6 separate regions of the Homo sapiens genome follow, and all the other regions are linked to region 1. The links are contacts of gene promoters, found by promoter capture Hi-C in blood cells and fetal thymus (Javierre and others, 2016). All regions are on one chromosome and are shown on one strand. Each heading gives the region's core, a stretch centred on a gene start or on the middle of the fragment in contact. The rest is flanking DNA. Distances are from core to core; before and after follow the strand shown.

Region 1 (4,583 bases), core at 988-3,487:
TACTTATTTTAGATACTGTCCTGGAAAAATAAACATAAAACATGTTATACTACTGAAAGAGCTCTCCCTGCCTCTAAAGAATGAGACTTTGTGCTTATTATCTCTTAAAGAGAGTGCATTTTTGTAAAGTCTTACAACTTGCCTTGAAAGCCATATGCTCCAGAAAGTGTGCTGTTCCATTGTTCTTCTCATTTTCGTATCTACTTCCAGCATCAATCCAGAGTCCAACCTTAATGCAATCAAAGAACAATTAAATAAATTCATTTTATTTATTTGAGGTTGGGGGGAACAGTCTCCTTCCTTTTTCTGACAAATGCTTTCTGGTCTTAACACTAAGATTTTCTTGACCTGAGTGAATTGATAGTTCATTCCTGTGAACTATGAGATTTAAAAATTTCGATCAGGATACTGCTGGGTGCTACAAGTATCTACCTGCCACCTTCAATGAGGATTCTTTGCCCAACTCATTAATCCAGCCAATTAATAACTGTAGTATCAAGAACATCAGAGACTGTCAGAAAACTTCGGTTGAAATCCTGGCTCTGTCATGTATTAGCTGAGTTACCTGAACAAAACCATTTAACTTCTCTCACTTCCTTAACTATAAAACAGGTGTGAGGATGCCCACTACAAACAATTGCTTTTTATCAAATAAGACATCAGTAAAAACACTTGGCAGAGTAGCCCTGCAAACATATTTCTTTCATTATTATCAATACTACTGAAAATAAATAATCAATAATAAGCTACAAGAACAAGATGCAGACAATGCAACAGGATACATATGCACCCTGTAACTAAGTACCACTGGAAGAAAAGGTTCACAACTCATGGAAATCTGTCAAGGCAAAATAACTGTCACCCTTTTTGAACCACCAGCCAACGAAAAAGCTAAAGATTAAAATCAACAATTTGCTACGCTAAATGAAGGGTCACTTAGAGAAGGTTGCCTGAGTCACTTACTGTGCATGTTGAGAGCCCAGAGTCTTCCGAAGCTACTCTGAGTCCACTTTCTAAACATGTTACTCTTGTTTCAGGAACATTCAGAACAACTTGGGTAGCAGCCTGTGTACTTCTTAATCTGTTCTCTCCAAAATATAATGACTGGTTGGGGGTAGGAAGTGGAAGAGACAAAGCAAAACACATTACTAATCTGATATTAAATGTTGCTTTTAAAACCAAATCTATTTTAAATAGGCTGTCTCTATAAAAGAATCTTTCTTCTTGAATTTTGGTTCCACTGAGATCTCTGCCTGGCCTAGAAACATCTGTCACCAGCCACTGTCCTAAAGCCAGCAACGTGTTTATAAACATGCCCTTCCCTCAGGGAAGATGAGCAATTATTATCATTACCCAGAGAGAAATTGACTTTATTTCACTACCTCTCCTAGAAATGTTTTATATTCATTATGGAGAAAACAAGCAGGAAAAAAAAAAAGAGAGGGAAACTATGTAAAACTACCTACACACAAGACAAAACTGACACTCGGGTTTTCATTGTTCAAGAAAAGCAACAGGGTTTGGAAATGGTTAAAAAAAAAAAGAGAGAGAGGATAGGAAGATGGGTCGATGTTCAAAATGCAAATGACTGGCTTTTCGGCCAGAAACTATTCGCCTTTCAGCAGTTTTTCTTTGCCCTTATACAAAAGTCTCACATCCCTTTGCTTAAAGTCAGAGGCTCTCTCATGAGAAAAATGCAAATACATAAAAAATTTTACTTCATTGATGTCCAGGTTCGCGGGAAGCCCAGCTGAGGACGAAGTTCAGTCTTAGGCAAAAATAGAACTCTGGAGCGGTACCCATTTCACTTTTTAGTTTTCCCCAATTTGCAAGCACTACGTTTTTAGTGGTCAAACATGCACTCCTCAGTAGCTGGCGGGAGGAGCCGAAAACCAGGGTCATCCCACACGTCACTAGCAGGTCTCCTGGCGGGTGGCCACAAGCCAGTCACCCCCGGCCAGTTCAGCAGCCCCAGGCCGCCTGGCGCCCGGCGGGTCCGGGTCGAGGAGGCCCTGCCCGACCCACTGTTCGGATCTGTGGCGCCGACTCTCAGGTGCGCTGCGCCGGGTCTGGCGAGATCTCGAGGACAGGACCGGCCTGGAGGGAAGCTCACCCGTCCCGCAGCGCCTCGGATTAGAAGACTCTCGCTGAAACCCCAGAGCCGCCGCCGCGCCGCGGATGACAACACCACTCGAGCCGCCGCAGCCGCCATTTCTGCTAGAAGGAAGGTAGAGGATGAAGGATGTGCTTCCGGGGTCGCGACCTGAGGTCCCAGAGCAGGGAGGTGGGCTCCACCTTGTGGCCGTGATGGGAATGACACTCCTCGAAGCGGTTGTGAAAGCAATCAGGGCCCGACCATGATGCTGAGCGGTCTTTACCAAATGAATTGGGGAGTCTGCAGAAGCCCCTTTATCATCAGTTATTTTATCGATCGCCTACTAAGTGCAAGGCACAAATGCGGTGGAATGAAAGGTAACCTGATGCAATATATCTCACTGGTGGATGGAATTGATTGAAAACAGTGGAATAATATTCATAAGTCACTGCCTTTAAAGGAAAAGTCTAGTGGGAGAGACAGATGCCGTGAGGGGAGGAAACGATGTATCCGTGTTGACCACTATCCACTCTTCGAACCTCTACAATATGGCTCATCTCATTCCATAGAAATTGCCCTTGGTAAGGTCACTAATTGCTAAAAGTTGGACACTTTACAGACTTATGTTACAGTCCTGTTGGAGGATTTGACATTGTTGGCTTCTTTGAAATTCTCTTTTCTCAATATATTCTAGAGCTCCACCTCCTCATAGTTCCCTCTGCACCTTCTTGGACTCCTCTTTATTCACAGATCTGTTTTTTGTTTTTGTTTTTGTTTTTGAGATGGAGTTTCACTCTTGTTGCCCAGGCTGGAGTGCAGTGGTGCAATCTCAGCTCACTGCAACCTCTGCCTCCTGGGTTCAAGCAATTCTCCTGCCTCAGCCTCCCAGGTAGCTGGGATTACAGGCATGTGCCACCACGCCTGGCTACTTTGTATTTTTAGTAGAGATGGGGTTTCACCATATTGGTCAGGCTGGTTTTGAACTCCTAACCTCAGGTAATCCACCCACCTCCACCTCCCAAAGTGCTAGGATTACAGGCGTGAGCCACTGCGCCCAGCCCACAGATCTCTCAAGGAACTAAAAATTGCAAATGCTTTTCTAACTCAGGTAGATGGTATAGTGCTTATTTTGCAATTAAGACACTGAAGTCAAATAACTTGCCCCAGGTTACCCTGCTAGTAATAGGTTAACGCCAAAGACTGTGCTGTGAAACACTACATTTTGCCCTAAAAGTTGGTGTTTGCCAGGACTCTAAGCCTCTTCTACTGAACATTCTCCCTCTGGGTTTTTCCCTCCACTTCAAGACCTGTCTGCCCAACCCAGGCCTTTCTCTTGAGCTCCAGCCCACTTAACCATCAACTACTAGGAAACTACACTTGAATACCCCATTGGAAACTCAATATCAACTTGTCCAAAAGGGAATTCACTGTGTCCCCTGAATCTCTTCCCATATTTGCAATGCCAAACAGCCAATCATACCTACATTTGCCCAAAACTCCAAACCACCCAGAAGCTCCTCTCTTTTTCCATCTTCCACATTCAATTGATACACCCCTTTCCTGCCTCTTCAATCTACTCCAGGCCCATTGTCAGTTTTTTCACATTACTACCTATAGGATCTTTTACAAATGAAACTGTTACGGCAGTCCCATTATGAAGAATCCATCAGGGAGCCCTTGGTCACAATAAAGTAAAGGGTCCTTAGCATGGCAGGTGGGGCCCTTCATGATCTGACTCCCATTTATCTTTCCAGACTCATCTCCCTCCACCTACCCGGCTGCTATGCTTCGCAGGTTCAGTCCACAAGACTCATGATGTAATGTAATAAAGGACGACCAAGGTTATTCTCTCATGTTTCTAAAACAAATGTGTGTTAACCAAAAATAAATACAAACATGCATACATATATACAAAAACATGTAGGTATAATCACAGGAAGCACCTAGGAAGTTTTAGCAAGAATTTGTATTCAATTCTAATATACTTCATGGTATTAATTTATTAGTCATTATTTACAGTCAATATCTTAGAACATAAAGCCTACAGAAATTAAGTGCACCAGAGTAGAGCCAAGAAATCAAAGAATTTGACTACTCCCAAAATAGCCCTACACCCACAACAGTATCCATAACTTTTTTTCTTTTTTTTTTTTTTGAGACGGAGTTTCTCTCTTGTTGCCCAGGCTGGAGTGCAATGGTGCAATCTCAGCTCACTGCAACCTCCGCCTCCGGGGTTCTAGCAATTCCCTTGCCTCAGCCTCCCAAGTAGCTGGGATTACAGGTGCCCACCACCACACCCGGCTACTTCTTGTACTTTTAGTAGAAACGGGGTTTCACCAGTTTGGCCAGGCTGGTCTTGAACTCCTGACCTCAAGTGATCCTCCCGCCTCAGCCTCCCAAAGTGCTGGGATTACAGGCGTGAGCCACTGCACCTGGCCTATTTTAAATGATTTCTTCACTGACTGGATTTTACTGGCAGAGTCATTGC
Region 2 (4,583 bases), core at 1,194-3,693, 1.7 Mb before region 1:
CAACTGTCTCATGAATAATATTTTTGTTTTTGTTTTCTGAATCAGGATCCAAATAAAGCCCACACGTTGAATTTGCATTTGTATGGTATGTCTCTCATCTCTTTAACCTAAAAATTCACTTTCTTTTTCCTTCTTGCAACCTTGTTGTTGTTATAAAAGCCAGATCATTTGTCCTCTAGAGATTTCCACATTTTAGATATTTTTTATTTTCTTCTGACTTTTCTGTGGTATCAGATTCCCTTAACATGTTCCCAAATAAGGTCCTTTTTTGGAAGGGAGCAAAAAAGCTTCTGCACTGCTTACCATTGTTGCATAACAAATTATCCAAAAACTCAGTAGCTTAAGCAACTTTTAAATTTTGCTCATAATTTTATGGGTCAGGAATTTGGGAAGGGAATCCGGGACACTCCATGGTGTCTGGGACCTTAGTTGGGGCTAAAACTCAAACTGTACACACACCAATGTCAATATTACAACTACACCATAGAATGCAGTTTTAGATTTCTTTGACGTTTGTTTCAGGCTGAACTGTGTCTCCTCCCTGCCCTTGCCCCCCTCCCCATATTAATACATTGAAGTATCTCAGAATGTGACTGTATTTGGAGATAGGATCTTCAAAGAGGTAATGAAGGTTAAATGAGCTCTCTATGGTGGGCTCTAATCCAATATGACTACTGTCTTTTTTTTTTTTTTTTTTTTGAGATAGAGTCTTGCTCTGTTGCTCATTGCAACCTCCACCTCCTAGGTTCAAGCGATTCTCCTGCCTCAGCCTCCTGAGTATCTGGGACTACAGATATGAGCCACCACGCCCGGCTAATTTTTGTATTTTTAGTAGAGACGGGGTTTCACGCCATGTTGGGCAGGATGGTCTCAATCTCTTGAACTTGTGATCTGCCTGCCTCAGCCTCCCAAAGTGCTGGGATTCCAGGTGTGAGCTGACTAGTGTCTTTATAAGAAGAGATGAGGACACATACGTGCACAGAGAGAAGACCACGTAAAGACACAGAGAGAAGGCAGTCATCTACATACCGAGAAGATGGGTATCAGAAGAAACCAACTCTGCCACACCTTGACCTTGGACATCAAACCTCGGGAACTGTGCAGAAGCCAGTTTCTGTTGTTTAAGCCACCAAGTGTGTGGTGCTTCTTATGGCAGCCCCAGCAAACTAATATACTGTTTCCATTCATCTTTAGGCTATATTACAGTACAGATCGCTTACTGTATTTTAAAGTCACTTAAAATAATTCATCTCTGTAAAATTAAATCACTAATTCAATACACAGTTAAAATTATTTGTTTCAATTGCATTCAGTTTTTAGGAATTTCTTTTTTGCCCCCATCTTTATTAAATTTTATTTTTATTTTTATTTTTTGAGACAGGGTCTCACTCTGTTGCCCAGACTGGAGTGCAATAGAGCCACCTCTGCAACCTCTGCCCCCTGGCCTCATTTCAGCTTCCCAAGTAGCTGGGAGTACAGGCGCCTGCCACTACACCAAGTTAAACTTTTTATTTTTTATAGAGATGGGGTTTCACCATGTTGCCCAGGCTGGTCTCGAGCTCCTGGGCTCAAGCGATTCACCCGTCTTGGCCTCCCAAAGTATTGAGATTATAGGTGTGAGCCACTGTGCCTGGTCCATCTTTATTAAATTTTGTTTTATAATTATGTAAAACATATCCAGGTGGGTGCAGTGGCTCATGCCTGTAATCCCAGCACTTTGGGAGGCCAAGTCGGGCGGATCATGAGGTCAGGAGATTAAGACCATCCTTGCTAACACAGTGAAGCCCCGTCTCTACTAAAAATACAAAAAATTAGCCGGGTGTCGTGGCGGGTGCCTGTAGTCCCAGCTACTCGGGAGGCTGAGGCAGGAGAATTGCTTGGACCCAGGAGGCGGAGGTTGCAGTGAGCCAAGATTGCACCACTGCACTCCAGCCTGGGCGACAGAGCAAGACTCTCAAAAAACAAACAAACAAACAAACAAACAAACATATCCATGGTTCCAATGTCAAACCTACAAAATGAGGCACATTCAGGGAAGTCAAGCCTAGCTTCCATTTTTCTCCCTTCTACTCTCTTCCCCTATCTCCTAGATAACTATTTTTACTGGTGTTTGGCTTATGCTTCCACTTCTTAAATATATATTTATTTACATTTTGAGACAGAGTCTCACTGTGTCACCCACCATAATCTCGGCTCACTGCAACCTCCGCCTCCCAGGTATGAGAGATTCTCGTGCCTCAGCCTCCCAAGTAGCTGGGATTACAGGTGCCCACCACCAAGCATGGCTAATTTTTGTATTTTTAGTAGAGATGGGGTCTTGCCATGTTGGCCAGGCTGGTCTTGAGCTCCTGACCTCAGGTGATCCACCCATCTCAGCCTCCCAAAGTGCTGGGATTACAGGTGTGCGCCACCATGCCTGGCCTCCAGTTTTTTAAAAAAGGCACATACATATATGTAGTTGTATTTCTCCTTCTTAGATAGCATACTCTATGCACCATTCTGCACTTTGTTTTTTTCACTTAATATAGGTTATACTAATACACAGAACTACTTCTCATTCCTTTTTACAGCTGCACAATATTACTTGTGTCGACGTCCCCTATAGGTGGACATTTGCATTTTTTCTAGTCTTTTGCTATTACATAAAGTGTGCATATAGCATCCTTGCATGTCTGAGACTTTAGGATGAAATCTGATTAATCTGCCAGGGTCTACATCTATCCCTGTCTCAAAGTGGGCTATTTCTATAACTTACCCTGATCGTTAAGGTATTACATTTTTCATTTTTTCTTATCTCACTTTGCATGAGAAATAGAGTATAAATAACTCAAGCTCCCATATTCAAAATAACAGGCATCGAGGGGCTTTTGAAGGGAAAAAAAAAAGCAGCAATCAACATTTCTGTGGGTTCCTTATTCAGCAACCTGTGGTCCACCTCCAACCCTCCACCAAGAAGACCAGTCAACGATTATACAAATGCCTCTAGTTCCGTATTCCATAGATTTGCCCTACCTAGATCTACAAAAAAAGTGAGACCACATCCCCTTAGGCAGCATCTTACCATTGCTGTGTGTTGAGGCACCTGCTCCATTCACTTACATATTCAACAAATATTTTATAAATGTGTACTATGTACCACATGTTGTGCCAGGTGCTGAAGACAAAGCAGTGGGTGAGATAAATCCAGCATCTATCCTCCTGCAGTTCAGACAGTGGCTCTTAGCTTCTGTGATTGGCTGAAGCCATTTTTGTTCAACACATGAAAGAGCACTTAAATATTCTTTCCCAAAGACCTCACAGCTTCAAAAATACCAAAATACCACCATCTTCCCAAGGTGAACACTAGACTGTGAGTTTCTCCTCATTTTATGGAAAGTGATGGGAAAACACCCAGATGATTTTGCAGTACTCCTGGTGCTTCATTCTCAGGGGCAAAATTGGGCATAAAACCTAGGTATCTAGATCGTGTCTGCAAAGGAAGCAATTGCTCTAATTCTGATAATCGGCCTTTCCTTTACATGCCTCTGAGACAGGGTCTTGCTCTGTCGCCCAGGCTGGAGTGCAGTGCCACAATCTCGGTTCACTGCAACCTCTGCCTCCTGGGTTTAAGCGATTCTCAGGCCTCAGCCTCCAGAGTAGCTGGGATTACAGGTACACACCACCACACCCAGCTAATTTTTGTATTTTTGGTAGAGATGGGGTTTCATCATGTTTGCCAGCCTGGCCTCAAACTCCTGGCCTCAAGCAATCTGCTCGCCTCGGTCTCCCAAACTGCTGGGATTACAGGCGTGAGCCACCGTGCCCAGCCTACATGCCTCTTCTAAATCAATCATGTTTCATGATTGCAAATTTTGCATTTATTTTGTGCTGGACTCCCAAGTTCTTTTATAATAAACAATAGTCACCATTTATTAAATATTCACTAGGTTCCAGGCATCCAGGCTAAGCCCTTTACACTAAATCATGTAGTCTTCCCAATTATAAGTACCATCATGGTAGCCATTGTATAGAGGAGAACACTGAGGCTTAGAGAGGGTCAATAAAATTCCCGAGGTCACACATCTAATAAGAGCAGACATGATTAGAGAAGTCACATCAATAGAGGTACAGAAGTCTCTGGTATGATGAATAAGCTATAGCTCAAGTATTAATAGTAATCATTAACTTCTTTTTTCTTTTTTTTTTTTTTTTGAGATGGAGTCTCTGTTGCCCAGGCTGGAGTGCAGTGGCACAATCTTGGCTCACTGCAACCTCCACCCCCCAGGTTCAAGTGATTCTCCTGCCTCAGCCTCCAGAGAAGCTGGGATTACAGTGGCCACCACCATGCCCAGCTAATTTTTGTATTTTTAATAGAGATGGGTTTTTGCCATGTTGGTCAGGCTGGTCTCAAACTTCTGACCTCAGGTGATCCTCCCACCTCGGCCTCCCAAAGTGCTGGCATTACAGGCATGCATGAGCCACTGCGCTCGGCCTGTAATCACTAACTTCTATTGAGCATTTACTATTGTGCCAGGTACTAAGTGCTTTACGTATATTTATTAGAAGGGAAAAAGATTCTTCCTCATCCCTTACATTTCCTTCCA
Region 3 (4,583 bases), core at 556-3,055, 1.6 Mb before region 1:
AGCTGTTGTGCTTGGCTTCATGATCTTTTGTTGTGCATACGTACAGTATCGTCTCGTTTTTTTCGTGTGTGAAAAGCAAATGAATTCTAAATGTTGAAAGTGGCTCCTAATTATAGGTGACTTTTCTGTCATCTTTTTATTTTCTACTTTTTTCTTCAGTGAAAATATATTACTTGTAAATTTTTTCAAAGGATAACATTATTTAATAATAACATATGCCCTTGGAAATATTTCTTTGATGTTTAATTGGAGAGAGGAATTAGACGAAGAATACTCTTGACTGTCAAAGTCAGAGCCTGGGTCCCACCCACCAACCCCCACCAACCCACCCCCTACCCCCTGCGCTCCCTCCACTGCTTTCCATCTCAAAGCTCCTGTCAGCGGGATTGCCCTTCTGAGCCCTGCTGGGAAGGATGTGGGAGATATGATAAGCATCACTGCTTTCATTAGGAGAGGGGCCTAGGGGGCCTTAGGCAGGCTGAGTGACTGGCTCTGAAATCCCTGGTTAATCGGTCCTACAGGAGGTAGGAACTGGCCTTCCTTTCTCTCTCCTTCTGTTTTCCAGCTGCCAGCTGCTCCTCTAATGAATAGGTTTTCTTCTGGTTTCAGTCCCATGACTTTGCTTTCCAAGTGCTATTGTACCCAGGCCAGCTGGTGAGCAGGACTGGTTTTTAGGGTTATAGAGTCTTCAGGTCACACAGGGGTTAAGTGCCATGGGAAAGGCCCAAGCAGAGTTAGAAGGTCACCAGGAAATCAGGAGGCAGGGCAAGGGTGAAAGGAGGTGGGCCTCCCTGCACGCACAGTCTGGGCGAGTGTCCACTAAGTTGGCAGAGCATTGTTAGGGACTTGCCTGTAGGGTTCCTACAACAAAACAATCAGGGCCTGGGTGGGAGCCAGGAGAGTGTCCAGGTGTTCCAGCAGACAGCGATGCAGACTTTTGCCATGGCTTTCAAAGGTTGAAGTGGGTCATGCCCCCCTTCTCAGCAGTCCTGTGCCCTCCGAGGGGTACAACGATGCCAGTGAGGGGTCCTCTTGAGTTCCCAAAATTCCTGCAGTGAGGAGCTCAGAACCATTGTGCAGCTTTAGAAAACTGTTTGCCTTGGGAGGCTGAGGTGGGCAGATTACAAGGTCAGGAGTTCGAGACCAGCCTGACCAACATGGTGAAACCCCATCTCTACTAAAAATACAAAAATTAGCTGAGTGTGGTGGTGTGCACCTGTAATTCCAGCTACTCAGGAGGCTGAGGCAGGAAAATCGCTTGAACCTGGGAAGTGTAGGTTGCAGTGGGCGGAGATTGTGCCATTGCACTCCAGCCTCGGTGATAGAGTGAGACTCTGTCTCAAAAAAAAAAAAAAGAAAAGAAAAGAAAACTGTTTGCCTGCAGGACTCTTTGTCGTTTGTTTTTACTGTGACCTGGGACCTCTCTCAGTATGGGGAGAGCTTTTTTTTGAGACAAAGCCTCACTCTGTTGCCCAGGTTGGAGTACAGTAGTGCAATCTCTGCTCACTGCAACCTCCGTCTCCTGGGTTCAAGTGATCCTCCTGCCTCAGCCTCCCTAGTAGCTGGGATTACAGGCATGTGCCACCAAGTCTTGCTAATTTTTGTATTTTTAGTAGAGACAGGGTTTCACCATGTTGGCCAGGCTGGTCTTGAACTCCTGGCCTCAAGTGATCCACCCGCCTTGGCCTCCCAACGTGCTGGGATTACAGGTGTGAGCCACTGCACTCAGCCAGTGTGGGGAGATCTTACCTGGAGAAAAGGAGAGGCCTGAGAACACCCAGCCTTCCCAGCACTCTGGGGCTGTAGCCTCTCAACTCTTCTTGGCTGCTCTTCTGAGAATAAAAGAATTCTCACATACCAATTTCAGGGGGCACAGCTGGAAAATAGGGAGCAGTGGTGATTAAGAACTCTGCCTCCTTCTAGCTGCTCTGAGCCACAGTTTCTTTATAGGCAAAAGGAAATACTCATAGTGTATGTTTCCAGGTTGCTGTGAGATAATGTAGCATAAAGAATTGAGAGGGCAGTGCTGGGAACATACCAAGCAGGGATGAACTTGAAAAACATGTAACAACCAGTAAGGGCAGAGGAAGCTCCTTCTTTGTAGATTGGAGGTCAAGATTGTGCTGGAGCAGGTTCTGGAGAACACTTCAGTGCCAGCATTAACCGATTAGCTGCTGGGCTGTGGGGAGTTTCCAGAGAGGCATTGGGTGAGGAAGAGGGGTGATGCTATTTATAATCAACTATGAAATTATTTAAATATTTTAATAATAAGCTATGGCTGTATACTATGTAAATAGTAACTGTAGTTCTAAGTATTAGTAAATATTAATGGTTAATTAGTATAAAGATTAGCTATAGGGCTTTTATAGCTAGATTCCCTCTTCCCCAACACGCACACATATACCTCCATTCTTATTTATTTATTTAATTTATTCTTGAGACAGTCTCACTCTGTTGCCCAGGCTGAAGTGCAATGGTGCGATCTCTGCTTACTGCAACCTCTGCCACCCAGGTTCAAGCGATTCTTCTGCCTCAGCCTCCCGAGTAGCTTGGATTACAGGTGCACATCACCATGCCCAGCTAATTTTTGTATTTTTAGTAGAGACAGAGTTTCACCATGTTGGCCAGGATGGTCTTGAACTCCTGACCTCATGTGATCCACCTGCCTTGGCCTCCCAAAGTGCTGGGATTTTTGGTGTGAGCCACTGCGCCGGGCCTTCATTCTTAACCTTAAAGAAAGAAAAACAAGCAAGCACTTAGGAAAAGTACAGGACCAACATGGGTCAGACTTGGATTCCAACTGTTCAGATGTGCAGTACTCTGGAGCCCAGAAACACATGTGCACCACCAGCCAGAGGGCAACTGCTTTCAGACAAGCAAAGCTCTGTTCTCAAGGCCCAGAGTTGGGTGGACCTTCCTGTCATGCTCCACCCAATGTGGAATCTGCAAGTTACCAGAGTGGAGTTTCAAGGAGACATCACTGGTTGGGGGTATGGAAAAACACCCCTGCACTTGCATGGCAAATCAAAAGGAACTCTGTATAAGTTTGCTAGGTGCTCTGATCTGAATGTTGGTATCTCCCTAAAATTTCAATATGTTCCAATATGTTGAAAGCTAATACCCGATGTGATAGTATTACCAGGTGGGCCTTCTGGGAAGTGATTAAGTCATGAGGGATCTGCCCACAGGAATGCCATTAATCCATTTATAAAAGAAGTTGGGGGGAGTGCCCTTCTGACCCTTCCACCATGTGACGAAGTGACACAAGGCGCCATCGGTGAAGCAGACAGCAGCCCTCACCAGACATCAACTTTGCTGGAGCCTTGATCTTGGACTTTCCGGCTCCAGAACTGTGAAAAATAACTTTCTGTTGTTTATAAATTGCCCAATCTAAGAAATTTGGTTATAGCAGCCGAACTGAGTAAGTCACTTGGGCTGCCTTAACAAAGAACCACCGACTGGGTGGCTTAAACAACAGAAATTTATTTTCTCACTGTTGCGGAGGCTAGAAGTTTAAGATCAAGGTGTCAGCAGGGTTGGTTTCTTCTGAGATCTATGAGGAAGGATCCGTTCCAGGCCTCCCTCCTTGGCTTGTAGGCCTCCCTCCTTGGCTGTTTTCTCCCTGTGTCTTCACATCACCTTCCCCCATATGTGTGTTTGTGTCCAAATTTCTTCTTCTTCTTCTTCTTTTTTTTTTCCAGACAGTCTTGCTCTGTTGCCCAGACTGGAGAGCAGTGACACGATCTCAGCTTACTGCAAACTCTGCCTCTCGGGTTCAAGAGATTCTCCTGCCTCAGTCTCCCAAGTAGCTAAGATTACAGGCACCTGCCACCATGCTCTGCTAATTTTTGTATTTTTAGCAGAGATGGGGTTTCACCATGTTGGCCAGGCTGGTCTTGAACTCCTGACCTCAGGTGATCCACCCACCTCGGCCTCCCAAAGTGCTGGGATTATAGGCATGAGCCACCGCACCCAGCCCAAATTTCCTCTTCTTATGAGGACCCTAGTCATGTTAAATTAGGCCCCACCCAAATAACATCATTTTAACTTAATTACCATTTTACGGAACCCCATCCCCAAATATGGTTACATTCTGAGATAGTGGGGGTTAGGACTTCAACATATGAATTTATGGGAAGACACAGTTTAGCCCATAACAAGTTTATTCTGTTCACCCTGGTGTGGCCAGGGTAGCTTGCCGGCTTCCTTTCTGGCACATGTGGGTACATGTTCCTCTGAGCTTTCCCTCAATGTCTTCTTTTTCTAACTTCTTATGAAGATATTTAAACATGTGGTAGAATACATACCTATCCATGCACCCACCCTCACCTAAATTCAGGACTGGCTAATATTTGCCAAGTGTCATTTATTTACACATGCACATGTAGGAGACCAGAATATGCTTCCCGTAAATATGAAGGATTGTCGAGCTGAAGACAATTAAGAAGGAGATGGAGAAAGCTCTCTGCCCTCCCTCTATTTGCCTAAAAGCAGGACATAGATTTCCAGAGACAAAAGATATCCTGGCCTCCTCTTCTACCAGGGAGAACAAAGGTTAACTACTAAAGACAGCATTGGACCGT
Region 4 (4,583 bases), core at 687-3,186, 1.6 Mb before region 1:
TTAAATATATCATGCTAATGTGTCTGGTATTTATTGTTGGCCCAGAAATTATTCCTTTGCAGGTGGTGCAAAGGATCAGCACGGGAGTTTTGACCTGCTCCGTTTCCGACCTGGGTCGGTTCACCCCTCCTTAGGCAACCTGGCGGTTCCCCGCTCCAGGGAGGTCACCCTCTTGATGCTGAATTTAGCACGGACACCTGATGGGCACAGTGCACTGCAGCCCAGAGCTCCTGAGCTCAAGCCATCCTCCTGCCTCAGCCTCCAAGTAGCCAGGACCACAGGCACGCACCCTGAGGTATGCCATTTCTCTTTGGTTCTTGTTATGGTAGTTCCTCTGTTTTTCCCTGTATTTTTACTGTCATGTCTTCCTTTATATTTATCTTGCTTGATATCTATTGTGCTTCCTATATGTGTGGATTCATATCTTTATCATTTTTGAAAAATTTTCAGACATTTTCTATTCAAATATTGCCTTTCCCTTATTCTCTCTATTTCTCCTGTTGGAAATCTGGTTAGATGTCTGTGTCTTCTCTGTTGTTTAACCTCTTTGTCATTTACCAACCCCTTGGCTTTTTGTATTGTATTCTGTGTAATTTCTTTAGATCTGTCTACTAGTTCACAGCTCCTCTCTTCAGTTATACCTGTTTGTAATTTACACATTGTACTTTAAATTTCAGTGATTATAGTTTTAATTTCTAAGACTTAAAAAATTTCCTTCTAATCTATCTGATTATATGTAATGTACTCTTTATTGTATTCATTGTTTTAGACGCTGTCTTTATTTCCTTAACATGTAAAACATGATTATTTTATATTGTGTATCTGGTAATTCCACTATCTAAAATCTGTAGGGTGATAAGTCGGCTGTTAGTTATATCTGCTGATTATCGCTTACAGTTTATTTGTATATTTAGTAATTTTTATTTTTATTTTTGAGACGGAGTCTCGCTGTCTCCCAGGCCGGAGTGCAGTGGCGCGATCTCGGCTCACTGCAAGCTCCGCCCCCCGGGTTCACGCCATTCTCCTGCCTCAGCCTCCCGAGTAGCTGGGACTACAGGCACCCGCCACCACGCCCGGCTAATTTTTTTCTTTTTGTATTTTTAGTAGAGACGGGGTTTCACCGTGTTCGCCAGGATGGTCTCGATCTCCTGACCTCGTGATCCGCCTGCCTCGGCCTCCCAAAGTGCTGGGATTATAGGCGTGAGCCACCGCGCCCAGCCATATTTAGTAATTTTAAAATTGCAATTGCATACTTTGTTGAGCTTAATTGGTGAGAGCTATGCGAGAGATGCTTTCCTCTAGACAACAAATGCTTGTATCTGCCTGGTACAAGGGGCCCTAAAAAGCTCTTTAATTTCTTGGTTGGGGTTTCTTTGATCATATGGAGAGTGTAAGACTGAATTCCATACTTGACGGGGGCAGGCATATGATAAATTTCAAGGGGTCATTATTATTTTTTTTTTCCATCTAGAGCCAGTGTGGAGATGGTGTTCTTGATAGATTTCTTTCGCTAGCATGAGGATTTTTCCTAGACCACTCTTGCCTAGGATGTAGCCATCTTCAAGCATCCTGCTTTTGGATGTGAATGTCAAATTTAACTCACCTGCTTCCAGTGGCCCAACGCTTAATCTTCCATTCCCTACTTTGTTATACAGATTTACCTTCAGGCAAGCCCAGTTTTTGCCTTTGCTTACATTTCACACTTAGTTTTCAGCTCACTCCACTTCTTTTTTGAAATGTTTTTGGAATTTCCCTTATTTTCTTATAATCTAAGCTGTGTGTTAAAAATAAACTTATTGTAATTTATCTAAGATTTAATAGTATGGCATAAGAAAGGCTTTTTAGAGGCTGGGCTCAATGGCTCACGCCTGTAATCCCAGCACTATGGGAGGCCAAGGTGGGTGGATAATGAGGTCAGGAGTTCAAGACTAGCCTGGCCAACATGGTGAAACCCCGTCTCTACTAAAAATACAAAAATTAGCTGGGCATGGTGGTGCGGAGGTTGCAGTTAGCCAAGATCGCCCCACTGCACTCCAACCTGGGTGACAGAGCCAGACTCCGTCTTAAAAAAAAAAAAAAAAAAAAAAAAAAAAGAAAGGCTTTTTAGAGTATCTAGTTTATACTGCTAGATGCCGAAACCAAAAGTAATCTTTTAGAAATGTGAAATAGTTTATATCACTCTTCTGCTTAAGATCCTCCAGTGGCTTTTTCTCACACTTAAAATGTACAAACTATCCTGGCCTACAAAGCCCAGAGCTGGGTCCTAGCTTAGCCCACGTGGCTCCCCACTCTGCCACCTTGCCGTTCCTGGTCTGGCATGCCTTCTGCTTTTTTCACACGTGGCTTTTAAACGTTTGTTCAGGTCTCACTCTAAATGCCACCTTTTCATGGAGGCCTTACCTGACTCCTCTCTCCATTTCTCTGTCAATCACCCTGTTTTAATTCTCTTTAGGGCATCTATTATTAGCTGACATTTTCCAGTCTATTGTCTGTCTTCCCCTACTAGAACATAAGACCTATGAAAGGAAAGCAGGGTTTTGTGTGATTCACCACTATATTCTCAGAGTTTAGAACAGTTCTTGGCACATAGTAGGAACTCAATACATATTTCTTGAATCATTAGAGCTGAGCGTTGACTACTTATTCCCTTTAGACGGGACCTAGGCTCTTCAGTGCTCCACAGTTCCCACTACTTCCTTTTAAAAATTTATTTTATTTTATTTAAAAAATTATTGTTGTTTTTTTTTTTTATTTTCAGAGAAGGGATCTCACTATATTGCCTAGGCTGGTCACATACTCCTGGACTCAAGTGATCCATCTGCCTCAGCCTCCCAAAGTACTGGGATTAGAGGCCACTGTGCCAGGCCAGTTCCTACTACGCCCTATTATGTCCCCAGCTGAGCTTGCTTTGTGAATTTATTGGCCCTTGTACGCATTTGAATTTTCAATCCCTGCTTATAAATGTCACTCTAATTGTCTTCAGGATCTTCAGAGCAGAGACTTTTTTTTATGTTTCTTTTCTTCCTTCAGTGTCTTGCATATAGTAGGAGGGGAAGGAATGAACATTCACTGAATATCCCCTACCTGTCAAACACAACAACAGTATAGTTTAATTTATATCCTTACAACAATGCTATGGAGCTGAGTAATATTATTTATATCTATTTTACCAGTGAGGACACTGAGGCTTAGAGTTGTTCAGAGTCATATAGTAAACCAAGGATCAGGGATTGGAACCCACTCAGACAACATATACCCAGTATGAAGTGTTGTTGCTTCATATACCCAGTATGAAGGGTTGCTCATGTGCGAGGAATGGTTGGTTGTTTTCAATTTGCAAAGGGGAGATTGGGCAATTGGATATTGCAGGTCAAGTTTTACTTGAGTAGTCCAGCTATTTATTTAGTTATCAATTTCATTCCACTGAGTGTATGGAGAATTAGCTGGAGATATTCCTACATTTGGCCAGAAGAGGCTTTGGAGATGTTAACCATGCCTTCTACATGAGAGTCCTGCTGTTGACAGATATGGAATCCAACAGCAGGGAGATTTTCCGAGATAGTTACTTCAGTGGAACCATCAGCTGTCACCAGATCACTGGACAAAGACAGAAACTGAATGCACCAAATATGTACCACACCACCAAAAATTCTTTTAAGTAACAAAATCTTATTTTTATTTTTATTTTTTTACAGAAATTCAGGTATTCCAACAAATTTCTTTACATTTCTTGGACCTTAAAAAAATTACACACAACTTTTGGACGCAATACAACAGAACAGAATGAGAAAGGGAGTCACCTTTTTTGTTTTTTTTTTAAAAAGATAAAAACCTACTTCTTATATTTAATTAACAATTAGTGATTTACATGTGTATTACCTATATACAAATGGTACATCGTCAATGACCCATCTTCAGAGCACTGTGGTATGCTAAATTACACTTAGGTTTTATGGCAAAAACTTTTTTAAAACATTCACATGTGGATAGGAAGTACTTTCTTAGTTTTGTTCATACCACTGTTAGTGATGTAGGACTCCCGATGGAATTTGTAGTTTGCATGGATTAGAGAAAGCCAATACCCTTTGTTTTTATTGTAGATAAAGTAGACAGGTACCTCCCTTCAAATAAAATACGAATTCTTGAAAAGTTGTGTGTAATTAAATTTAGTAAGTAGGGTGTTATGGATGTAGTAGGGAGCTAATACTTAAAGCAACAAATAATCCTCAGAATGACTAATACTTTAGTTGTAGATACTAAGTATTCCCTTAATTTGGTTCTTTAGAAAAGCCACATCTCTGTGAATTGGGTTTTACTCCTTTGAGCATACCCATAATATGCTTTTAGCCATTTGAAACATAATGCCATTTATGGTGAAAAGATGGCCCGTACCAGAAACATTTGGCTAAAATAGGAATGTGGTCCTAACAGAGAGAGGGTAAGAGAAGTGAACCCTGATCTGTATCACTTCTTGTGTTATCCTCCATCTGATGTTCTAGTGATATACACTGATTTGTTCTGATTTTGAATACATGAATAAAAGCATTCTACATGTCCATGTTTTCTCCTTAGGTATAGAACAT
Region 5 (4,583 bases), core at 1,442-3,941, 1.6 Mb before region 1:
TAGCTGCAACAGTTGTGTCATAATGGTAGAAACAGAAATTCTCTACTATGGGAGATTAAAAAGAAATGAAACCTTCAGTGACCACCTACTCTGTTGCAGGCACGAGGCTGGGGAGCTGGGGCGCTGCTGGTGGGCTTCATGGTGCTGTGGTTCTGTCTATTCTCATCAGCCTGTGAGGCAAGAAAGTATTGGCAGCACCTCACAGGCCTTGTCCTCTTCATAGCCCCCTCCCGGGAGCCACATCAGTCTCCATTTCAGGTAAAAAAATGAATGAACAAATCACAAAGATGGTCCTCACTGGCCACCTGAGCCTGGCGTGTCATCCACAGAAGAGCCTGGCTTCCCCGCCATTTCTCCCATGGCCTCTGGCCTGAAATAGTTTTCTTCTTGTTAGCGGTTGATCTCAGCTCTGGGCAATGAGACCTTCACCCGGCCAGTGTTCAGAATCCACTGAACGGACTGAGGGGGAAGGACTGACAATCAGTTCTAAAGGGACAAACACACAGCCAATTTAGCTGCTTAGTTCCAGACCCTGCATGTAAACAGTAAGCTAGGAGCTCTGAGGCAAGTCTACTGCTCAAGGCAGCAACTGGGTATTTTCCCCTGAGCTCCACGGGGCGTTGTAATGCGGGGGAGGAAGGGGATGGAGCAAAGATTAAGATGCACAGGACCAGTAAGGCCTCCTGTCTGCTCTGCAGGTATAGAGCAGGAGAATCTCCCAACCACTTGTTTTTTTAGAGACAGGATTTCACTTTGTTGACCAGGTGAGTGAAGTGGCACAATCATAGTTCACTGCAGCCTTAAAATCCTGGGCTCAAGGGACCCTCCCAACTCAGGCTCTTGAGTAGCTAGACTATAAGTGAGTGCCATGAAGCCTGGCTAATTTGTTATTTTTATTTTTTGAAGGGAAGAGGGTCTCACTATGTAGCCAGGCTGGTCTCAAACTCCTGGCCTCAAGTAATCCTCCTGCCTCGATCTCACAAACTTCTGGGATTACTGGCACAAGCCACCAAGCCTGCCAGATGTTTCCTTATCCTAAGAAGCGAATGAGAAGAGGAGAGAAGGAAAGATCTCTAGGAAATATAATTAGGACTGCTCTTTAATTAAAAAAACTGATTGAACATGTATAATTTTGAGATGGTATAATATAGCAGGCAGAGTGTAGCAGCTTGAACTTGAAAATTTCTACTTCATCAAGGTAATATGTACATTGATTTTAAATGTTTCCATTAATTTATCCACTGAAATTCTTCATATTTCCAAGATTTCAGTTCTCGTTGAAATCTTTCCAGAGTTCTCCTGTTAAACTTTGTTCATATAAAGATGACTTTATGGGAGAATATCCATTCTTAGAAAATGCTCTTTGGAAAAGCCAATACTTTCCTTGTTTTTGTTTCTGAGACAGAGTCTTGCTCTGTCACCCAGGCTGGAGTGCAGTGGTGTCATCTTGGCTCACTGCAACCTCTGCCTCCCAGGTTCAAGCGATTCTCCCACTTCAGCCTCTTGAGTAGCCAGGACTACAGGCTTGTGACACCACACCTGGCTAATTTTTGTATTTTTAGTAGAGCTGGGGTTTCACCTTGTTGGCCAGGCTGGTTTTGAACTCCTGACCTCAAGTGATCCACCTGCCTCGGCCTCCCAAAGTGCTGGGAGTACAGGCGTGAGCCACCACGCTCGGCCTGGAAAAGCCAATACTTGATTTTTAAAAAGTCAGACCATACAAATGATCTTATAATGAAGAGTCACCCCACTTCATCCCTTCTCATACCCGGTCTTACTCCCTGGAGACAAGCTGTTTTAATAGTTTCCAGTTTTATTGCAGTAGTTACTTCAGTAGTCTAAATACTATGTTAACATTTGTTTAATTATGCATTTATCAATTTTAGACACTATATGTTGAGTCTTCTCTAGAAAAGTGAAGATTCACCTCCGTTCCTTCTCACCTCCTTTCTCTCCCAATTTTGATTTTAAACAATGCCTTTGTGAGTTTAAATAATAGGTATACCTTTACTTCTTTTTTTTCTTCTCTTTCTGTCTTTGGTCAGATTCAACTCATCTCTCCTTGACGTGAAGCTATCATGTAACTTCTTTTCCTTCCATCTTTCTAACTGCTGACTTTCTGATGTAAGCTTGACTTTTCAAAAGTCAGTATGGGGATTTTCAGTGGATTCATTAACGGAAACAATTTGGACAGAAATCTCCCCTCTTCCTTCGCCTGGAAAACTTAGACTCATCCCAAATATTCAAGTGGCTTAAGATTTCTGCCTTCTACAGCCTACACATGATTGTCCATGCATTGTTGACACATGTGACAGTGACTCCATTGTAGAGGTATAACGTATCTACTTACAAGGAAATCTTCCTCACTGACATTGTGCATGCCTCAAGGACAAGAACCAGGCCTTACATCTCTGAATCCCCATGACCTAGCAGAATGCCTGGCACATAGTAGGACTTCAAGATCTCTTTGCTGTGGAATGTGTGTATATCTGTATTATATATCTCTTTTTAAAAGACAGGATCTCTGTCACCCTGGCAGGAGTGCAGTGGCATGATCATAGCTCAGTGCAACCTCCAACTCCTGGGTCCAAGAGACCCTCCTGCCTCAGTCTCCTGGTTAGCTGGAGCTACAGGCATGTGCCACAACACCTGGCAATTTAAATTTTTTTTGTAGAGATTGGGTCTTGCTATATTGTCCAGGCTGGTTTCCAAACTCCTGGACTCAAGTGATCCTCCTGCCTCAGCCTCCCAAAGCACTGGGATTACAAGTGTGAGCCACCATGCCTGGCCTCTATGATACATATTTACATAATTAGAATGTTTATTGTTTGAAGGGGTAAGATGTCTTAAAAATATGTCCAAACATGAAAACAAATTAATGCAGTGTCTCTAATATTGTGGTCCCCTGAGTGAGCATGTATGTATGTGTACATGTATGTGAGGTTCTTGATTTTGGAAAGAGTAGACACAGTGGCTCTGTGAAGGATCAGCCCACAGCAGATGAAGTGCCACCTGCCAGAATGAAAGGCAGAGCTGCTTTCTCCAGTCAGGTATACAAGATCTGCTTCTCTTTGTAACTTGTTCTGACTCTCAAGCTGTTGAGAGTTGTCACAAATAAAACCCCCAAACAACTCTGAAAGTCCTACCAGTAGATCTAGTCCACTCAATCTGAACCAAGATGACCTGCTTCTAAACATATTTCCAGGATTTCAGCTCTCATTGAACTCTTTCCAGCATTCTTCCTTTAAGCTTTGTTCATATAAAGATGACTTCATAAGAGAACGTCCATTCTTAGAAAATGCTCTTTGCAGAAGCCAGTACTTGTAGTAGAGGCTGTCGTTTCTCTGCCACTTTCCCCTTAGGCTTTACCATTTCAGTGCCCACTGGGCCAGTGTTTAACTGCCAGCCTCTGCGTCTTTTTGCTGGAGGACATTCTCTGACCAGCAGGGTCCTCTCTGCTTACCCATGGGACAGACTGGAAATGCCAGGGAATCACCATCCCTTACCTCTAGCAGTCCTCAGTCAATGACTGATGAGAATTGATTTATAAATATCACTTCCCTTGCCCCTGGAATCTCAGAAATCCCCAGTGGGATTGCACTCCAGTTACCCAAGTAATGACTTGTTTGCTAATACTCCCTTTATTGACCACCTTCCTCTCCCCATCTCACTTTTTCATCCCCTACCAGTGTCTTCTGGGATCTCTACGTACAAAAATGACCTGCACTTAAATCCCGTGTCAGCATCTATCTATGGGGGAACCCAAGCTAGGGTAATATTCTTATACAGTAAGTTAGACAGTCATCTTTCCTTCCCTTCAGTTATTTCCTACAAGGGAATCATTTAGCCTTCTGTTATTCACCGTGGAGCTAATGCTGATGTACCCCTGGTGGAAGTCAGTGCCCATCTTTGTGGGAAACATTTATAGGGGAATGGCTGCCAGTATAACAAGTTTTGGCATGAAAGGAGAAAATTCTCTGGATTTCTTTCCTTTCAGACGTGGGAAACAAGTCACAAAGCAGATCTTTCCAAATCCACAGTTAAATGTTCAGAGCAAGTGAGCCTCTTTGTGAAGCCACATTAGTCTTCCTTTCCCTTGACCCTGGGGACCCCGGGGACCCCGGGAGGACTTAAAGAGTTTTAATGTGATTTCTGGAATGTGCTTGATTTTCAGAGAGAGCAGCTTAGCCCATGGGAGACTCCATTAATATAATTTTGCAATAGAAAAGCTTCCTATTGCCTAATCTCATTAATTGTGTTTTATGTACAGTAAATGGGTAAAAGCTGAGTTTGTAATTTGGTAAATGTGAATGTATAATTTTTGAGGACTTAGAATGTGGAATAAAGAAGAATTTACTTAATATGTAAAAAGAGGCTGGGCGCAGTGGTTCATGCCTGTAATCCCAGCACTTTGGGAGGCCAAGGTGGGCAGATCACCTGAGGTCAGGAGTTCGAGACCAGCCTGGCCAACATGGCAAAACCCCGTCTCTACTAAAAATACAAAAATTAGCCAGGTGTGGTGGTGGGCGCCTGTAATCCCAACTACTCGGGAGGCTGAGGCAGGAGAATTGCTTGAACCCAGG
Region 6 (4,583 bases), core at 1,069-3,568, 1.6 Mb before region 1:
TTATGTGAGAACCAAGTGATAATCAATGAGGAGTGCCTGGCACGTGTAGGTATTCAGCAAATGTAAAGGAAAATGTCAATTACCTTTTCAGCTGCACCCTACATCCTGATCACAAGCTGTCCTGAGGCAGCTCAGGGTTTTTGCTATGCAGATCCCAAGTGAAGAGATAAGACCCCTGGAACACAGCACTTATATTTTGGTTAGTCTTTGACAAATGACATGGGAAAAAAACCCAGAGGCTTAAACTGTGCTGCTATTTGTAAGTGGTTAGTGACTATACTTGTCAGCAAATGCTCTGTAAAAATGGATACAGGAGAGTCCATTTTGTTTGGCCAGAATGAAATTCAACACACTCATAGGAATAGTGAGTCTCCAGTAGGAGGTCAACCCCCTACCCATCATTTTTGCATCATTCACTTTATAAGATTTTGAGATGAAAGAGATAAGTCAAATGGAGATCAAGGAAAACAACAAAAAATAAGATCTGGAATCAATACCACAAAGCCACTGCTATTTTTATTATCTTTTTGGGGTGCAGGTTAGGGCTGTATGACTAATTAGGAAAAGCTCATTAAGCTAAATATGAAGGGCAATTAACACAGGATCACTCCAGCTCTGTGTAACTGGGCTCTGCCGTCCACATCTGAGATAGCATAAGGTGGTGTACAGACACTCGGTTTCTCAGTTATACAACATCTTTCTACACATACTGTCGTGTTACTGTATCAGACCACCAGGCGGAGCAGCCCAAGCAGCTGAGCTCTTCTTCCAGCTCCGACTCGGCAGCTAGGGGATCCCAGGTTTACCTCTTTGACTCTCCCGTGGAATGAATGTTACTTATCAGGCTCTGCTTACTTCCCAGGTTGTGGTGAGGGCCAAGGAGAGGTGTGGATAAAGCTCCTTGGAAAGCTGGCCCCAGGGTTCAGCAGGTCCAGGTCTGTGTCTAGCTTTGAGCTTTGCAGGGGTGAGGGGTAGCTGGATCTGGTACCCAGTCAGGGGTTTGGGCACTGCGGGACCAGCGGCTTATACACAGGTTGGCCCAGATCTACCCTTCTCCAAAGCAGAAGGAAGCATTAAGACTTCCTTTGCCTTGAGGATGTGCTGCTTGAGGTCAGAGAAAGCTGAATTCAAATGCAGCTCTATCAGAGCATCCCTGGGCTAGCACTTATCATCTCAGAACCTCATTTTCATATCTGAAAAATACAAAGGAGATAACACTGCCTACCCAGAAGGCAAGTAGAAAATTAGAGTAATGTTTTAAAGTGCCTGGTGCCTGGAGGTGGCAATATGTAGTAGCTCCTAAGATTAGTTCTTTTCAAGTCCACTCCTGAAGTTCATTTTCACCCCATTTCATCTGCATTACAATTCAGGGCATAGGGGATTCTAACTAGCCTTGGTCTGTAACTTCCAGCAAAAGGTGGGGGTCTGATTTTTCTGGGTGGCAGACTATGGCATTTTGGGGAAGTTGTATTTGAGGCTTAAACTCAAAGAAGGTGGCATTTGGAGGGTATTTTTTTTTAATCTCCATGTCAGGTGATTTCCTTTTACCCCTTGATAGTTGCAAACAAATTGCTGGAAGATGGTGTAAGAGATACTCGGCAGCATCGCTTGCCAGAGTGAGCTCTAACCTGCTGCCTCCAGGAATGAGAAGCTGCAGTGCTTTTATAATAAACAGGCAGCCCAGCCCTACCACGAGCCAGCCTGTTCACCAAAGCCTGTGGATTCCTGCCATCAGCAGCGTGGACAGCAGCACTCATTCCAGGTCTTGTTGGAGAGAATAACCTCTGGATGTCTCTGCCAATCCAAAGCTTGCCTGACAGAAATGCTTTTTAGGGAAGATCTTCTAAAAGGGAAGGCATCTCTCCCCTCTTCCCCAGGTTCTCCAAGTGTGCGTTTGACCATGTTAGACCACCAGGAAGCTCGGTGCTTGACCATTAGTTTCTCCTAGAATCACTTTCTAGGAGAAGAATCACTTTCACCCAGGTTGGGTGGCTGCGTTTTTTTAGAGAAGGCCACCACTTCTGCCAGGAGGCTCCTCCTCTAGCCACAGGTACAGACAGCTTCAGCTACACTTCTCTCCAGCATTAGATAACAGCTCTCTCTGTTGCTAACCCGGGAGGCCCTGTCATCCTCCAAGGTTCTCCCAAGTCCTCTCCATAGCTGTGGAAATAGCTGCTTCTCCCAACTATCCTAAATTACCCTGTTTGAAGGTGCCATCTGTCTCCTGCTGGTATCTGACTGATGCAGGCACAATCCTCACAAAAACTCCCTGAGGTAAACATTATTGCTCATTTTATATATGAGAAAAAATAGTTAAATGTACTTCCCAAGGTCATATACACTGTAAGCCAAAGAGCTAAGCCTCAAACCCAGACCTGCCTTGTGCCCTTTATCTCTGTCTTATGTCCTCTTAGGGGGGCAAAATGTTTTTGAAACTGTCTTTAATCACTCCCTTTCTTCTCCTTTTCCCCACACTAACACACAATCTAATACAACTAATATAGATGAAAAATATCTGGCTTAAATAATATTGAAAGAAACCTTTATCAACAACAAAATGGAGAATTCACCGGCTCTCTCTTATTATCTTATGTTTTACTTTTTTAAAAAAGCTATAAATAGCACCTAATTGCATGCGACAGTGGAAAGCACAAGATTGTCGGAGAAAAGTCTGAGATGGCATTGCCTCTGGTAGTTGTATTGATAAAAACATATCCCAGAAAAAATTTAAAATAAAAAAGATTAAATTCTCCTGTCTCCTTGGGGCTGGATTCTTAGCACACTCTATGTGTCCCTGTCTACTCTGGAGACAGGAGATATAAGCTTAAATATTTTATTTAATTTTTCTAGTTCTTGGCAAGAGAAAGAGAGATGTCAGAAGAGAGACAGGCATTCACTGGTAGAGTCTGAAATTTCTTCTATAAACACTTTACATTCTAGGAGATGAAATACACGTAAATACTTTTAAACTGTTACATATAGCTGCCTTTTAAGATACTTAGAATAGGCTGTTACTGCTCCCTCTTAAAGTGTCTGGTTGAAACACCCTGATGCTTTTGTGAAGAGACTGCAAGATGGGGGTAGTATGAAAGGAATGGGTGTAGATCCTTAAGGGGCATCCCCAGGGCAGCCCTTGGAGGACTATCCTGGGAAACCTAGAGGTCTTTAGCTCTTTGCACATACAGTGAACCCCCAGGATGTTATGAGCTCCCTTTATTAGCGGTAAAGTGCTTGATCAGCCTTTGATAAACAGAGACTCAGCAAATCTTTAGTTGGTGCTCAGATTTAGAACAAATATATTGCTGGAAGTAACTACACCATGCAAGGTTCATTATTCAGCAGTGGATTATTTCATAATCAACCCTGCCTGCATTGGGCAGGGAGAGCCGAGTAAGTTTGCACAACAGGCCTGAGAGAAAAAGGCCATTTGAGGTATGCGTGTGTGTGTGTGTGTGTGTGTGTGTGTGGGTGGGTGTATGTGTGTGTGTATTTGGGGGGTGGTGGTAGAAGGATTAGAAGTGAAATTAAGTCCCAGTCCAACACTGAGTGGGGTTATGGGTCGTACTTTATTTCTTAAGCCAAGTGGTGAGTAAGCAGGTGTTTATCACATCATAGTTTATGCTTCTGAAAAAATGTTACTTTTAGAGTAGTTTTAGGTTTGCAGCAAAATTGAGCAGAAGGTACAGAGTTCCCTTACACAACTTGTCCCCAGGTATGCACTGTTTTCTGCACTATCAACATCTCCTACCAGTGATACATTTGTTACAATTGATAAACCTACATTGACACATCATTATCACCCAGAGTTTATAGTCCACATTAGAGTACACTTTTAGTATTATACATTCTATGGATTTATACAAATTGACAGATGTGTATCCACTATTATAGTATCCTAAGTAGTTTCATTGTTCTAAAAATCCTCTGTGGTCTCCCTATTCATACCTCTACTTATACTTTATTTATTTATTTATTTTGAGATGGGGTCTTCCTCTGTCACCCAGGCTGGAGTGTGGTGGTATGATCTCAGCTCACCGAAACCTCCGCCTTCCGGGTTCAAGTGATTCTCCTACCTCAGCCTCCCGAGTGTTTGGGACTACAGGCATGTGCCACCATGCCCTGCTAATTTTTGTGTTTTTGGTAGAGATGGGGTTTCACTATGTTGGCCAGGCTGGTCTTGAACTCCTGACCTCAAGTGATCCGCCTGCCTCAGCCTCCCAAAGTTCTGGGATTACAGGCATGAGCCACCATGCCTGGCCTACTTAATGCTTTTTTGAATGCAGAAAGTATTCATAATAATTTTTTTCAAAAAGAGTGACTAGGTAGGGTGGTAATAGAAATGTGAATAACAGATTTTGGTTTTTTGTTTTTTTTTTTTTGAGACAGTGTCTTACTCTGTTGCCCAGGCTGGAGTGCAGTGGTATGATCTTGGTTCACTACAACCTCCACTTCCTGGGTTCAAGTGATTCTCCTGCCTCAGCCTCCTGAGTAGCTGGGATTACAGGCACCTGCCAACACGCCTGGCTAATTTTTGTATTTTTTTTTAGTAGAGACTGGGTTTTGCCATGTTGGCCAGGCTGGTC

Evidence for each region. Contacts are between HindIII fragments. The CHiCAGO score rates a contact against its expected background, and 5 or more counts as called.
Region 2: a contact is called between a fragment that was not itself captured here and the fragment with the promoter of PMPCB in region 1, in 3 of 17 cell types (naive CD8 T cells, naive CD4 T cells and non-activated CD4 T cells). The highest score is 9.1, in naive CD8 T cells.
Region 3: a fragment that was not itself captured here is called in contact with the fragment with the promoter of PMPCB in region 1 in 3 of 17 cell types (naive CD8 T cells, total CD4 T cells and non-activated CD4 T cells); the score reaches 7.7 in naive CD8 T cells.
Region 4: a contact is called between a fragment that was not itself captured here and the fragment with the promoter of PMPCB in region 1, in 2 of 17 cell types (total CD8 T cells and naive CD8 T cells). The highest score is 6.1, in total CD8 T cells.
Region 5: a fragment that was not itself captured here is called in contact with the fragment with the promoter of PMPCB in region 1 in 6 of 17 cell types (total B cells, naive CD8 T cells, M0 macrophages and 3 more); the score reaches 8.8 in total B cells.
Region 6: a contact is called between a fragment that was not itself captured here and the fragment with the promoter of PMPCB in region 1, in 1 of 17 cell types (total B cells). The highest score is 5.1, in total B cells.

What each region holds. Positions count from the first base shown.
Region 1 is chr7:103,295,089-103,299,671 of GRCh38, reverse strand. It overlaps PMPCB (peptidase, mitochondrial processing subunit beta), which reads right to left and starts at 2,237. Exons shown (of 13, transcript NM_004279.3): 1 at 2,114-2,237; 2 at 964-1,104; 3 at 143-229. The coding sequence starts at 2,212. RefSeq lists enhancers at 1,983-2,282, 2,383-2,442. The HindIII fragment of the contact is 11,349 bases long and covers 1-4,583 here.
Region 2 is chr7:104,946,695-104,951,277 of GRCh38, reverse strand. All of the region lies in intron 1 of LOC101927902 (a long non-coding RNA gene), which reads right to left. Among named protein-coding and RNA genes, the nearest start is that of LHFPL3-AS2, 22 kb to the right of the region's middle. The HindIII fragment of the contact is 4,307 bases long and covers 290-4,583 here.
Region 3 is chr7:104,927,559-104,932,141 of GRCh38, reverse strand. No RefSeq gene overlaps it. Among named protein-coding and RNA genes, the nearest start is that of LHFPL3-AS2, 3.2 kb to the right of the region's middle. The HindIII fragment of the contact is 6,184 bases long and covers 1-4,583 here.
Region 4 is chr7:104,907,628-104,912,210 of GRCh38, reverse strand. LHFPL3-AS2 (LHFPL3 antisense RNA 2) reads left to right here. Exons shown (of 4, transcript NR_027374.1): 3 at 135-295. LHFPL3 (LHFPL tetraspan subfamily member 3) reads right to left here. Exons shown (of 3, transcript NM_199000.3): 3 at 3,650-4,583. It also overlaps the pseudogene RN7SL8P. Among named protein-coding and RNA genes, the nearest start is that of LHFPL3-AS2, 17 kb to the left of the region's middle. RefSeq lists a silencer at 1,876-2,032. The HindIII fragment of the contact is 7,345 bases long and covers 1-4,583 here.
Region 5 is chr7:104,886,455-104,891,037 of GRCh38, reverse strand. The region is part of intron 2 of LHFPL3 (LHFPL tetraspan subfamily member 3); the gene reads right to left. Among named protein-coding and RNA genes, the nearest start is that of LHFPL3-AS2, 38 kb to the left of the region's middle. The HindIII fragment of the contact is 1,120 bases long and covers 2,132-3,251 here.
Region 6 is chr7:104,859,063-104,863,645 of GRCh38, reverse strand. All of the region lies in intron 2 of LHFPL3 (LHFPL tetraspan subfamily member 3), which reads right to left. Among named protein-coding and RNA genes, the nearest start is that of LHFPL3-AS1, 57 kb to the right of the region's middle. The HindIII fragment of the contact is 1,015 bases long and covers 1,811-2,825 here.